Linked DNA regions of Homo sapiens: region 1 is linked to region 2. The links are contacts of gene promoters, found by promoter capture Hi-C in human tissues and cell types (Jung and others, 2019). All regions are on one chromosome and are shown on one strand. Each heading gives the region's core, a stretch centred on a gene start or on the middle of the fragment in contact. The rest is flanking DNA. Distances are from core to core; before and after follow the strand shown.

Region 1 (6,902 bases), core at 4,291-6,790, 54 kb after region 2:
AATGCTTGTTCCCCGGTGTCATAAAGAAATAGGACTTGAACATAAATTTAATTTATTTAGTAAGGCCATTTTTTACTTCCTGCAGAAAGGGTACACTCACTAGCAGTTCTGCCATGAGAGTACACCGAACAAAGGAGACAGGGTCATTTATAACCTGACATGTCCACACTACTGCTGTGTCCGGTTTCCACTGGCTGGAACGGGACCTCACATTCTGTATTTGTCCCGATTGGCTAGCAACTTAGAACTTTTTAAAAGAGGCAAAGGTAGAGGAGAACAAAGGAAGGAGGAAGTAACTTGTGGAATGCTGAGAAAGATAAAAACACTTTTAAATAAGGAAGAGGAACAGGCTATGACCTAACGCTTGCTTGGACCAGTATAAGCATGCCAGGGCAAATATTTAGGAGCACAGGTCTTTGAATAAATTTTGCTTCTAAGAGAAGTTACTGTTTATTTCTAATTAGATGGGGAGGAAAGTCTTTGAAGAGGAACCTCTACTTTACTTTTTACAATATTCCCCCTTTTTTTATTTCATAATTCCTCCTCAGTCTTGTTTAATATGTTTTGACTTAATTCTTTGTCCTTCTAAGAGAGGTAATTTTTTTTCAATAGGGTGGAGGATAGTTAGGAGTTAACTCTGTAAGAGCAGCAGAGACAAGTTTTTGCATAAAACCTTGAAGGCAGGGCATAATATAACAGTCTACAAGAATAAGTACACCAATAGTAAGGGCAAACGAGGTGAGAATTGAATTGAAGTTAAATTTTTTTTTAATTTATGGTTACCTACCAGACCAACATGGATTTAAATTTTGCAGCTATTTGATTTTTGTGCTTTAAACTTATTTGGCACTTCTCACGGACCTTAATAACATTTACGTAAACCTGAGGATTAAAGGACTCAAGGAGTTTCCTTTGGCCTGCGGTGTTTTGTTTTTACCTTTTTAGATTGACGAAATGCCAGCGTGAAGCGGATAGCCAATTGGATTAGAGCACAAGTACTGCTCCAGTTATTTGGCCGAGTGTCCAGTAAAGGTCTTCCACAGTACCACTATACATTTGCTTGGGGATGGCTAAGCATGGACTGATGGGCAAGTTCTTGGAAAGGCTTGGGCTTCTTGTATCCTTTTATGCTTTCAAGGAACGCCAAATTTTCCTCCTGCCATGAGAGGCACAAAGTAAACTTGGCATTTAGAGGTGGAAGCTGGATTGCCCTCGGAGGCTGACCCGCAGGGTGTTGAATTTCAGGAAATAGCAGAGAGCGCTCAGTATGATGGATTATCCCAAGCAGTGGGATTTTGAAAAAGAACCACCATACACTCCATATCTGGATGACAAGGAGACCATCCAAGTGGAAAGGAGATAATCTGGGCCTCTGGCCTACCGTGTGTACAAGCGTAATAATCGCTTTTATTTAAAGTGTGAATGGATTATTTAATCCATTTCAGCCAGGAATTTGCATCTTGATATTTTGTCTTGATGGCTAAGGTCTGTCTTAGATATCTTATTTTTACAATAGACACCCTAGTTTTATTAGATGTAGGAGCAACTGGTGTGGGATCTAGAACTGAGGCTACTGAAGAAGGGGGAGATGGGGGAAAAATCCATATTTTAAAAATACCTAGGGGGTCTTTTCCATTTATGTCAATCCCCATACCACAGAAGCGACTAAGGGCAGGTCTAGAGTTAGTTAAGGTGGAGGTGGTGATAAAGAGAAGGACAGGGTTACACTGATAAGGCTGACAGTGAGAAGGGGTAGTCCTTTTAGTGAAATAGATGAGGGGTTTTAGATTTGCACAAACCTTTTTCGTGGAAGTCCAGCTTTGCTCCTGGGTAGTTTAAGGGATGTGGTCCCATTTACTACAAGGTTGCCAGCCTGTAGGAGCAGAAAATCAGCATCTTGGCTGCAGGTCATTACAACAATGACTGCTAGGGGTACCTGTGTCAGTTAGAGGGCTGGGACATAAATATTTGTGTGAAAAGGCTAGCTGTTGTTGATATTTTACATTTCCACAAGGTATGACAGAGCAAGAGTTAAAGGCAATGGTCTGAGGTGAGTCAGACTTAGTTACATTAATAACAACGGAGCTAGTAACAAAATACGGAAAGGAAAGGAAGCGATATAGAAGGTATATGAAAATTAAGCTTTCTTTAACTTTAACTTAGTAGGGCTTAATCCTAGTACAGTAACCCATGATTCTGAGAGGAAGATGTTTTCTTGACTCGAGTATGGTGGGACCATTTTTTTCTTGGCTGTGCGGACGGCAGTCTCAGTGGTTAATAGCATAAAATAGGGTTCTTCCCAGGCTGGCTTGAGTTTTTTTTTCTTTCTATCTTTTGATAAGGATGTGGTTTTCAGGCTGGTGCTGGTGTACTGGAAATTCTAGGGGTGCTACCTGTGCTAAAAGACTTTTAGCTCCAAGGGAAGGGAAAGTGGAAGATAGATTAAGTATATAATTTCTGCTGCATATCCTGGGGCTTGAGGCCTCATGGTTATGCCCCTTGCTCTATTCCTGCTCAGCGCTGCCCAGGAGACACTGTGGCCCTGCCCCCTCTTAATGTTTGGCCTTCTTATGGCCTTCACCACCCTGCACTCTGTGGCCTTGGGGATGAGGGTCCTTGTGACTTACCGGGTTGCCTTTAGGCCTTAAGAAAGCCAAACACCATTTTATATTTGACAATGTTTTTGTATGATTTTATACCAGATAAGTTAAATTTTACCATTATATTAATGTGCTATTGATGTTCAACTTAATTTTAATAAAATCTTGTAGACATTATTTATCCAATTTTAATGTCTAACTATAAGGTAAGACTTTTATAGATTCTTTAACTTTTTATAATTTTTGTTAAAGAGCAGGTTAGTGCTTTAAGAAAAATCTATAGTGATTTTATTGTAATATCCAGTTCACAGAAAAACTGGATGATACCCCTTTAACTTTAGCCAATATGTTAACACACAGAATTTCCTTTACAATTAACATTTTAAAACTTGCTTAAATCTTTAAAACAGAAAAAAAGTTTAGCCTTTAATGTAGGTAAAAATCTGTATTCTTATGCCTCTTTATAATCCTGTTATTAAAAGTATTTTTTTACATACCTTGTACATAAACTTTTTTTAATAATTTTACATTCAGGAGGCCTGTTTTTCAGTTATACAATATTTTTTGCATAAATTCCCTTTTATAGCTTTTCTTATGACTTTCACAGACAATCTTCAGCATGTCTTAACTTTCTGCCTTCCTTTTTCACTATTTTTCTAGTTTCACTCTCTGTATCTTCCTTTGATTTCTGTCTCTTCCAGTTTCTCTCTTACTTACTCTTTCCCTCTATTTCTCTCTCTCTCTCATTTGCGCTCTATTTTCCTCTCTCTCTCTCTCTCTCTCTCTCATCCTGTTTCCCTTTCTTTTCCCAAGTTCTCCTGCTCCTGCTGCGAGCCCTGCTGGGCCATGGCACGGGCCCCACCCCCACGCACACGCAGCTGTCTGTTTCTCCTGTGTTTTTTATTTTTCCTGATTTCCCTTTTTATATTTTTTCCTTTCTTTTTACACTTAGTTTCTCTGGCTGGGTGGGTGGGATTTGCCCGGCTGTAGTCTGGGCCCCAGGCAGTCACCGGCCCAGAGGATTGGCAGATGCCTGCCGCAAATTGCAAGAATTATGCCCTTTCACCTCCTCTGCTCTCCTCCCGGCACCAGTCCCCAAGCTCTTTGGGGAGAGGGACTTACCCCTTGGCGTGCCTGCCTGGCTGTTTGGCTCTATGCTTGCTGTTTTTGCTTTCTTTCCCTCTGACTTCCTCTCCTAGTTTTTTTCTTTTCTGCTGGTCTTTCTTTTTTCTCCACCTGTAGCAGGATTGATAAGGAATCAGGAACACCAAGGGGTTGAGGAGGATTTTTATTATTTAGGTGCACTGGCCCAGTTGGATTAACATCCAAATGACTGAGCCCTGAACAAAGAGTCAAGTTATCTTTTAAGTATTTTGTCTGTGGGGGAAGATTTGTGCAGGGGGAAGCATATTACAGAAGCAAGAAACAAAGACAGTTATTCAATTGAGACATACATTACATTGTTTCTTACTTTTCAAGGAAAAGCATGTTTTATGACTTGAGTTTGTCTGTCTAGTGACCTTGCAGCTGCACAGCTAGAGAAACAGGGTCTTCACAATGCCTGGGAAAGGGAGAGATAAGGCTCACTAGCCACGGAAAAACAGGCAGTTAATTTTTAAAGGACTCCAGTTCTTTCTCTTCCTCAGGGGGAATTGGGTTTTCTTACATACAACTGAGTTTTTGCTTACACATTCTTTAATTTCTTTTAATTCCTGTTCCATTCCCCCCTTTGGTGCTTTTTATAACAAATGTGTTAACAGAAAGCACCACTATTTGCCACGTCTTCGTGGAGCTGAGCTGCTGCTTCTACCAGCAGCGACTGATATCTGGTTAATGCCATCATCTGCATGGTAGTGTATCAGGCCACTATTGCCTCCATAGTTGACTGAATACTTCTAATAAACAGGGGTAAAAGGCAAGGGAGGATGAGGCAGATGCCAAGAATAACCAAGAACCCACCAATGAGGCTTTTGAATCCTCTAAAGGCTGAGAACCATCCTCCAAACAAGGAATCCGGGGACCACCCAGACCAAGTCTGAACTGGAATATGGGCCAATGTGTGCATTCTAGCGGTGATTTCCATGACAGCTCAACCATTATCATCGATTTCTAGGCAACAGTTGGTTAAATTAAATTTTCCACATACTCCTCCTCCTGAGGCTAAGAGGTAATCTAAAGCCAATCTATTTTGATATATAGCATTCCTCATTTCTGTTGTTGTATTTTTTTCCATGTGAGTTCCTTGGTGGAACTCTTTTAAAAATCTGGGGGCCACCATTTCAGGTATGGCTAGCCTCCCATTGGATAATATTTACCATCTCCTTTTAATGTAGTTTTTATTTTTCTGGGCAAAATAAGCCCTTTCATTTGGAGTGTAGCTTGGGATATCCAGGAGAGGAATCTCTGGGAGGAGAGGCATAGCTAAGGCTTCCTCTTTAAAAGGTGGAGTTGTCATTGCAGCCTGCTTTGCCTCTTTGTCTGTTTTCTTATTTTATTTTATTTTTTTAGCCTTTAGTATTCTTCCTTTTTGGTGCCCCTTGCAGTACATCACTGCCACCTTTTGGGGCCTATACAGCATTTAAGAGCTCTAGAATTTCTTCCTTATACTTTATTTCTTTACTTTCAGCAGTTAAAATTATTTTTTCTTTGTAAATAGTCTCATGAACATGCAAAGTGGCAGAAACATATCTGGAATATGTGTAAATATTTGTCTTTTGGTCTTTGGCTAGCCAGAGAGCTCTTGTCAGAGCTATTAGTTCTGCTTTCTAAGCAGAAGTTTTTGTAGGCAAAGACTGCACCTCTACTACTGAATCCAAAGTCACCACTGCATACCCAGCTTGGCGGACTCCGTTTAGTATGAAACTGCTTCCATTAGTAAAATATTCAATGTCCAGGTCCCTGAGGGATGTATCTGTCAAATCTCTCTGGCTTAAGAACACTTCATCTATCACATTTACACAGCAACGAAGGGGGTCTCCTGGCACTGACTCGATGAGGAGCAAGGTAGCCGGGTTTAGGGTATTCACCATCTCTAAAGTCAGTTTATTAGCTTCTTGTGCCAGTAGGGCAGTAGCAGCTAGTGCTTTAAAACAAGGAGGCCATCCAAGTGCCACAGAATCTAACTGCCTGGATAAGTGTGTCACTGGGCAATGCCATGACCTTATGGCTTGAGTTAGAATCTTTATGGCCTCCCTTTCACTTGTGGACATTCAAGAAGATAAGCTTAGTTAGTTAGATCTGGCAGTCCTAAAGCTGGGATCTGAGTCAAGGCTTCTTTGATTTTTTGAAAAGCCTTCTTCTGGTTGGCCTCCTAGAGGAGGAGTCCTTCTTTCCTCCTCTTTGTGGCTTTGTATAATGGCTTAGCCACAAGCAAGAAATTTGGGATCTAAATGCGGAAGAACTTTGCTGCCCTTAGGAACTCTGTTATTCGACGCCAGGTGGTTGGAGTAGGAAGTGCACAAACAGCCTGCTTTTGTTCACTACTAAGCCATCTTTCCTCTTGGCTTATGTAAAAGCTTAAGTACTGGACACTTTTCGAGCAGATCTGAGCTTTTTTCTGACCCTTTATATCCTGCCTTTCACAGCAGTCTTGGGTTTCTCCTGGGTGCAGTAGCCCTTGGCCAGTGGTTTTTTCATACCATGGCCTTGACCATTCTCCTTATTCTTTTGACATTTATCCTTCTAGTGTCCTTTTCTTTTGCACCATGTACATTAATCTCTCTCTAGCCTTGGCTGGCTTTCAAATTGCTGTCCAGACTAGCCTTTTCCACAACTGCATTCACACCCGCATCTATGCCTCCTTGCAAAGCCAGCCTCTCTTCCCATAAGGGCTGCTGCTTGTAAATAAGCCTTTATTAAGCCTCCAATCAGCTTTCTTCTTTGCCTCCTGGTCTCAGTTAATGTACACCTTGGTAGCCACTTTAATAAGCTGAGTAGCATTCACACCTACGGAGCTTCTAACTTCTGCAATTTATGCCTGATATCTCCTTGGGCCTGCCTTACAAATGCCGTATTTACTATTCACTGATTTTCAGCAGCCTCGGGGTTAAACAGAGTGTACAAGCAAAATGCCTATAAAACTGGCTGGTGCTTTTATCTGCACCATGGAGCACTTCTGAGATTTTTTTATATTGGTTGCCTTTTCCTTTTAACATCCTTTAGCCTTTGTAAAAGTGCTTCTCGGCACTTTTGTAGGTGCTGAAGCTGGACTGCATCGTCTGGGTCCTAGTGGGGGTCTGCTTGTCCTCTTAAGAGGCAGAAGCATAACTTGGGCATGACTTGACCTGAGACGGCCTGCCTACC
Region 2 (7,447 bases), core at 717-3,216:
CTAAGAGGCACTTTAAAATGGACAAACTAAATGACACACTAGCCACCCAAAGTCTCCTATATTCTAAAGTGTGTGATGAGACAAACTGATTCAAAATAGCCCTAGGGTGAGAATTTCCTGTTCAAATCTGCAGTGACACATTGGTGAGGAATCTACTTTTTCCACTCTTGCCTCACTCTGACCCTTCAAAGGGCAGTCTGTGAAGATCACAGATAACGTTTGTGTCTTTCAGAGGTAACCTGACCTCTCCACTGAAGGGCGTGTGGCTTTCTGATGACAGTAGGTAAGTGTTGCTCCTCTCCCTGTTTCTCTACTAGCTCATCTCATTTAGTAGAAGATTGTAAGTACTGGCTGTGATGCACCTGAGGTAAAGTTGATATAGACGAAAATCAAGGTAGAACTTTATTCACGTGAATAATTCAAGGTGAAAAACGAGCCAAAATATAAACTATGTTTAAGGATTTCTTAGAGTATTCACATCATTGCCGCTGGAGAATCACTCAAGTAGATGCATACATAATAATAGGTTTGCCAATCCATGTAATTTAGAGTGAAACCCATAACCATCATGACAATGAACAATTAATTTTGGATTTTGTAATCATTACTGGTTTAATTGTATATTATATTTAGACCAAACTTTAAAAATAAATTTTTAATATGGATACATCAAATTGTGAATGTCAAACATTAATTCTCAATCACACACCTAGATTTCATGAAAGCAGTTTTAATTTTTAATAAAAGTAAGGATGAAATCATTTCCATAAAATGCAAATCTGACCTTAATTATAAACAATTGGAAGACTTAAAACAATTGAACCAAACATTGCAAAAAAGATGTACCACACTGACATGAGACGCCTAATTAATGAGTTATTTTAACACACTCTAATGCAAATCAGAAATAATAAAATGGCAATTGTGTTAAAAATAGTTGAAATATCTATTATGTATTCAGTGCTAATATGTGCCAGGTTGTGTGTTTAGTTTTCTACATACATTATACTTTATAAATTATTTTTCCCAATGTAGATTAGTAAACTAGGTTAGTAGACACTAAGTAATTTAGTACAGGTCACATATTACAACTTGCAAAGCTAGAATTAATTGTAGTCTCACTGACTACAGAGCTCATTGACTAGATTATTAAATTACATTATCTGAACTATTACAATTACTTATACAACCAAAGCGACCCTCACTGACTTATACAATCATAGGAGCTTTCTGAAAGTTTGATTGGACACTATTCTTCCATAGACGGCCCACACGTTTATTTATCATTTTAAGTTTTCCTATTTTAGTCATTAAATCAATTACCAATTTCTTGTGTAAAAGCAGCAATTTAAAAATATATTATGTTTTCAATAGTATTTATGCATACAGTAATGTAATGTTTTACAAGATATATTTTTAAAATTTTAATGATTTTTCTGATTTCCTAATTTAGAAAAATAATCAGTTGACAATACCTCAGGTCCTTTTAATAAATGAATGTAACTCACTAACAATGTATGTTAGTATAAGAAGTTACTCTGTATGCTGACAGAACTATTTTATCTTATGGCACACAATCATTAACCATCAATGACTCTTAAAACTATGGTAAAATTAGTGTATTTCTAAATACAGTATTTTAATTGTTAAAGTATGCAGTCTATTGGTGTTAAACATTTTTGAAGAATCTAACCTTAATTTAATACCAATTTTTTTCATGAACTTCCTAGTTCTCACAAGTTTAATGTTTTTATTGTTCCCACTAGTAATATTATGTCAAATACAGAATACATCTAAAAAATGGCCAATTATATCGTGTGATTTTTGTTTAAAGCTTTAGGAAATTAGTAGCAGAATTTTACCTAGGTTAACAGCAAAGTAAACATTATTACTCAGCCCCAACACATGCACATTGCCTATACCAGGGATCCTGTCAAAATATACACCATTTATAGCTTCTTAAGTGCAGTTATCATAGAGCACAGTCCCTCACATCACACAGCTGCAGAGATGAGTAAACAAAGAGGAACCTTCTCAGAAGTGAGTCTGGCCCAGGACCCAAAGTGGCAGCAAAGGAAACCTAAAGGCAATAAAAGCTCCATTTCAGGAACCGAACAGGAAATATTCCAAGTAGAATTAAACCTTCAAAATGCTTCTCTGAATCATCAAGGGATTGATAAAATATATGACTGCCAAGGTAAAACATTAAATATATCTTCAATGTTATTGTTCTGGGATGTGCAGTTGAATGCAGAAGGGTGAGGAAAGATTAGGGAATATTTTACACTTGTGAGAATCAGAGTTCATAAATGGGATCTAATATTCTAATATGAAATCAGAAGACTAATTTTATTCAGGCATTGTTCAACTGTAATCAACTGTAATCTGCAATCCACTCATGGAACATTACATTTACTGAAAATGAAATGGTATATTCTGAGAGAAAGATTACTAGAGTAGATGTAGATTTAGCGGCCAGAGTTTATCATTATGTTTCCCTGTGCATGTGGGTTCTCTAGTATGTAATTCTCTAGTATGTAATCCTAATCAACTCTCTATCTCCCCTCTCTCAGTGCCTCTATTTCTCTCCCTGCAGGTTTACTGCCACCTCCAGAAAAGCTCACTGCCGAGGTCCTAGGAATCATTTGCATTGTCCTGATGGCCACTGTGTTAAAAACAATAGTTCTTATTCCTTGTAAGCATATTCTTGAAAGATTAGAAGGGAACGTTTTACTTTAATGCTTGGAAGTGCCTCAAAATATTTCATACTGTTGAAGAATAGAACTCTTATTTTACTGTTTCTTTCAAAGATCTATTACTTCATTTATTTTTATAGAAAAAGTTAATTTTATTAAAGATTGTCCCCATTTTAAATAACACACAAAGTTTCAAAGTAAGAAACTAAACTCATTATGGTTTATCTAAATATTACTTTTTATAAAAATCATTTTAATTTTTCTATTACAGTCCTGGAGCAGAACAATTCTTCCCCAAATACAAGAACCCAGAAAAGTACATTTTTATTTTCAAAGTTCTGATATTAGTACAATTTGGAACCAAAATAATATGGTTATTCTGAATTTTTCACAACATAAATAACAAAATCATTGTAGAGAACATGTGTTTATTTTTTGTGTGTAATCTATATATATGTATATACATACACACACAAAGATATTTTCTGATTTCATAATTCAAAGGCATGCTATAGAAGAAAAGTATTTAGAAAAACTAATTTTTGAAAGTGGTTACATCAAATACTACAAGAGATGGTGAAGTTTTGTGCTAAAGTCTTTAAAAATGTTTATTTCAAAGGTCTATTACTTTATATATTTTTATAGAAAAAGTTAATTTTATTAAAGATTCTCCCCATTTTAAATAACACACAAAGTTTCAAAGTAAGAAACTAAACTCATTATGGTTTATCTAGATATCAGTTTTTATAAAAATCATTTTAATTTTTCTATTACAGTCCTGGAGCAGAACAATTCTTCCCCGAATGCAAGAACCCAGAAAGGTACATTTTTATTTTCAATGCTCTGATATTAGTACAATTTATATTTTGTGTCTGTTTTAAGGCATGTAAAAGAATAGTGGCATTTTTGCAGAAAATAAGCCATAAATTCAGCCATAAATATTTATAAAGAAAGATTATGAGGCAGCATTTCCTTTTCTCCAGTAAGTAGAAATACTCACTTAAAATCATTCTACCCTCTTTCTCCCAATTAACAGAAGTCTCCTACTGCTGTGAGATGATACCAAATAAATAATTTTACTATTCTAAAAAAGCAGTTGTGTATCAGTGAGGTTCAAGACATGTGTGGAGTGTATTTTTGTTTGTTGGTTTGCTTTATATGGGAACACAATTAGGGGAGAGAGGCTAACCCTTTTCTGTGTATGTGTGTATGACTGACTCAGTTATTAAAAAATATATACTTATAAGCCTGTAAGGATGCATAAATATGTTAAGCACATATATGTTTATACTGTTGCAAATATGTGAACTAATTTTCATTTTTAAAAATTCATATTGGTCTAGATAGTAATTCATATCTTTATTAGCACGTCATTGTGGCCATTGTCCTGAGGAGTGGATTACATATTCCAACAGTTGTTATTACATTGGTAAGGAAAGAAGAACTTGGGAAGAGAGTTTGCAGGCCTGTGCTTCAAAGAACTCTTCTAGTCTGCTTTGTATAGATAATGAAGAAGAAATGGTAAGATGTAAATGTTTCAAACATTTTATGAAAAGCTTCTTTCAGTGAATAATACATTTGTAGAAAACATCCATATGTGTGTACATATATTTAGCTTATATATTTTCAAGTGTATGCATTATTCAGTTGATTGACTTAATAATGTTTTTAAAGTTATATACCGCTAATGTACTTTTATTTTCAGTTTTTGCTTTTTATGGAAAACCATGCTTCTATTAATGCTTTGAATCCACAATAAATTTTACTATTTAATTTTATTGAGCATGATATGATCTAGTCATGCAGATTGATCACAAAGTGAATGATCTCATGTGATACAAGTGAGATCATGAAATAAGTTTCCAGCTCTAGCAGTTCCACCCCTGTGTATGCCCTCATCACTTATCCTGACTCCTCTCCAAAACACTGTCTTGACTTTTGAAGTTATAAATAAGGTTTGCCTGTTCTTGAATTTATAAAAAACGGAATTATACAGTGTGAATTTCATGTCTGTCTTTTTCACTCCTATCTGATATTTGTGGAATTCCTCCATATTATTGCGGTTATCTGTAGTTTGTTACTGTTCACTGCTGTACTATGTACAAAGAACACTAAGAATTCATTCTGTCTTATGTCTCTAGATGGGGAAGTGAGTCTCATGCCCTCAGGGGCAAAGAGGACCCTGGATGGTGCATTGGTAGTCGTGGGTCCCTTTCCTGATCCTCCTCACCCACAACCACCCTGGTGTCTCCTGGTATGAGAAGGAAGCACTTTCTCTAGCTCCGTATTGGTGGCAGGTCTCCTGGTAGATCATCCTTGCCAGTGGCACCAGCCTTGCCTGGTATTGTGGAGGGGACTCTCCTTCGATACCCTCCTCCTATTGCCAGGTTGGGTGTAGGGAAACAGCAGGCCTAGGTCACCTTCTTCTGTCGTGTGGAGGACTTAACATGCTCACTCGGACACTTGGTTGATCCCTGATGCTAGGGTCCCAGACAATTTCATCTTTCTCTTTCCACCTTTCAGAGTTCTCCATTACTTTTGTCTTTCATTAATCCCAGAGTTTATAGTTGTTTTTAGTAGGGAGTAGCAGAGAGAGACGAGTCTACACCACCTGGCCAGGACCCCTGTTATTCCACAAAAACCGAATCGGATAAAAATTGAGGGCTTATCTAGTTAAAGAATGGTGTGGTACCAAGGAAACCCAATCTGTAGCTTCCATGTCATTTATTTCTGAATGACAACCCCTCAATTCCCTTCTAAATCTCCAACTCTGAGAAATATAGCACAAAAATAGATTGATTTAGTCACAGTATCTGGAGAAATGAATGCACAGTATCAGGAAACTTATTAAAACCCTTCCTGTGTTTATTCTGTTAATTGGAGTAACTATTACATTGCAAGAATTAAAATGTCTTTATTAACATGAGAATAAGAATGAAAGTACTAAGTATAAACGTTGAAGAGTTCATTTAAATAAAAAATTCAAACATTTATGAAAGTTTTTGGCACTGCAAATAGTGGTTTTCAACTTTAATATATTGTTTTTGTAATGTTTTCATAATTATTATTTAAGTGAAAATTATTTCTTTTCTTTTAGAAATTTCTGGCCAGCATTTTACCTTCCTCATGGATTGGTGTGTTTCGTAACAGCAGTCATCATCCATGGGTGACAATAAATGGTTTGGCTTTCAAACATGAGTAAGTTGTTTTATAGGGTGCTATATAAAAAAATATAAAGGATAAATTCAGAAGAATAATATGAATAAATCTATGTGGAATCATTGATATGAAGAAAGATGTGGAAAGTTAGTGAAATGTTGATACAAATATTTTACAATAGACCATAGTAGTCCATATATGTCCACCACTCATTGGTCAGCTAGTAACTTTCTTGGTTATGAGATGGACCAGGGGTGTCTAATCTTTGGCTTCTGTGGGCCACATTGGAAGAAGAAGAGTCTTGGGCCACACATAAAAGACACTAACACTAACGCTAGCTGATGAGCTAAACAAAAAAATTGCAAAAATATCTCAGAATGTTTTAAGAAAGCTTATGTATTTGTGTTGGGCCGCATTGAAAGCTTCCTGGGCCACATGCGGCCCATGGGCCGTAAGTTAGACAAGCTTGAGATGGACTATCAGGGAATTGCAGTGCTTGTTTTCATTAAAAAGTCACCCTTATTTTACTTAAGAATATCCTCAAAGCACAATAGTAGTGCTGTTGGTATATTGCTTACAATTTTTTATTAGTAGTTATTGTTGTCAATCTCTTATTGTGCCTAATTTTTAAATTAAACTTTATCACAGTTATGAATGTGTAGAGAAAACATAATCTCTCTATAGGTTCTGTACTATTTCAGACATTCAGTGGGGTCTTGAAACATATCCCCCGTGGATGAAGGGGGAGTACTGTATTGAGTGTTCAGAATAATGACTTTTAGTAATAGCATATGAAAAATTTAATTACCCTTTTTCATAAAATTATTTTCTTACAGTACATGGAAAATGCTTTTGTCTCATGGGTCATTTGCATAAAATGTAACAGAATTATGGATTTTTCTCCATTACAGGATAAAAGACTCAGATCATGCTGAACGTAACTGTGCAATGCTACATGTACGTGGACTTATATCAGACCAGTGTGGATCTTCAAGAATCATTGTGAGCATAAGCTTTAGAATTAAAGCGCTTGAGCTTGCAGTGCATCAGATAAAATTTTATATTTGTTCAAACAGAAATGATATTATGATTGCATAAGCCTTAAAATGAATTGTGTTATTTGCTCTAATAATAAGAAAATTCCAAATCAATTATTGAAATATAATACACACAATTACGGAAGTACAGATACCCTCGCATTTAAGTCAGGCTCATTTTGCTGAACGTGATGTTTGTGGCATTCAGGCTTCCTAAAAGTTGCATGTTATGTTGGTCAGTTTATATGAAGTATCAAGAACAAGCAAAACCATGGAGACAGAAAATAAAATAGCGTTGCTAATGCCTAAGGGAGGTTGAAATAGGAGGTGTCCACTAATTGCTAGAATGTTTCTTTGTGTCAGTGATGAAAACTTTCTAAATTTCAGTAGCAGTGATGGTTGTAACTCTGTGAATACACTAAACATCACTGATTTTTAATCATTTTAAGTGGATGAAATTTATGCTATGTGCACCGTACCTCAATGAAGCTGTCCAAAACAAAAATATATACTGTCCTGGGATTGCTTGAGTCTGCATTTAATCTCTAAAGTAAT

Evidence for each region. The method cuts DNA at HindIII sites, captures the fragments that hold promoters and counts their contacts. A contact is called where the count stands out against the background at its distance.
Region 1: a contact is called between a fragment that was not itself captured here and the fragment with the promoter of KLRC3 in region 2, in 1 of the 25 tissues and cell types used here (hippocampus).

What each region holds. Positions count from the first base shown.
Region 1 is chr12:10,365,350-10,372,251 of GRCh38, reverse strand. All of the region lies in intron 1 of KLRK1-AS1 (KLRK1 antisense RNA 1), which reads right to left. Among named protein-coding and RNA genes, the nearest start is that of KLRK1-AS1, 5.0 kb to the right of the region's middle. RefSeq lists a silencer at 1-55. The HindIII fragment of the contact is 3,116 bases long and covers 3,983-6,902 here.
Region 2 is chr12:10,415,114-10,422,560 of GRCh38, reverse strand. KLRC3 (killer cell lectin like receptor C3) reads left to right here and starts at 1,966. Exons shown (of 7, transcript NM_002261.3): 1 at 1,966-2,197; 2 at 2,597-2,695; 3 at 3,473-3,517; 4 at 4,063-4,217; 5 at 5,794-5,894; 6 at 6,767-6,857. The coding sequence starts at 2,011. The HindIII fragment of the contact is 7,239 bases long and covers 1-5,249 here.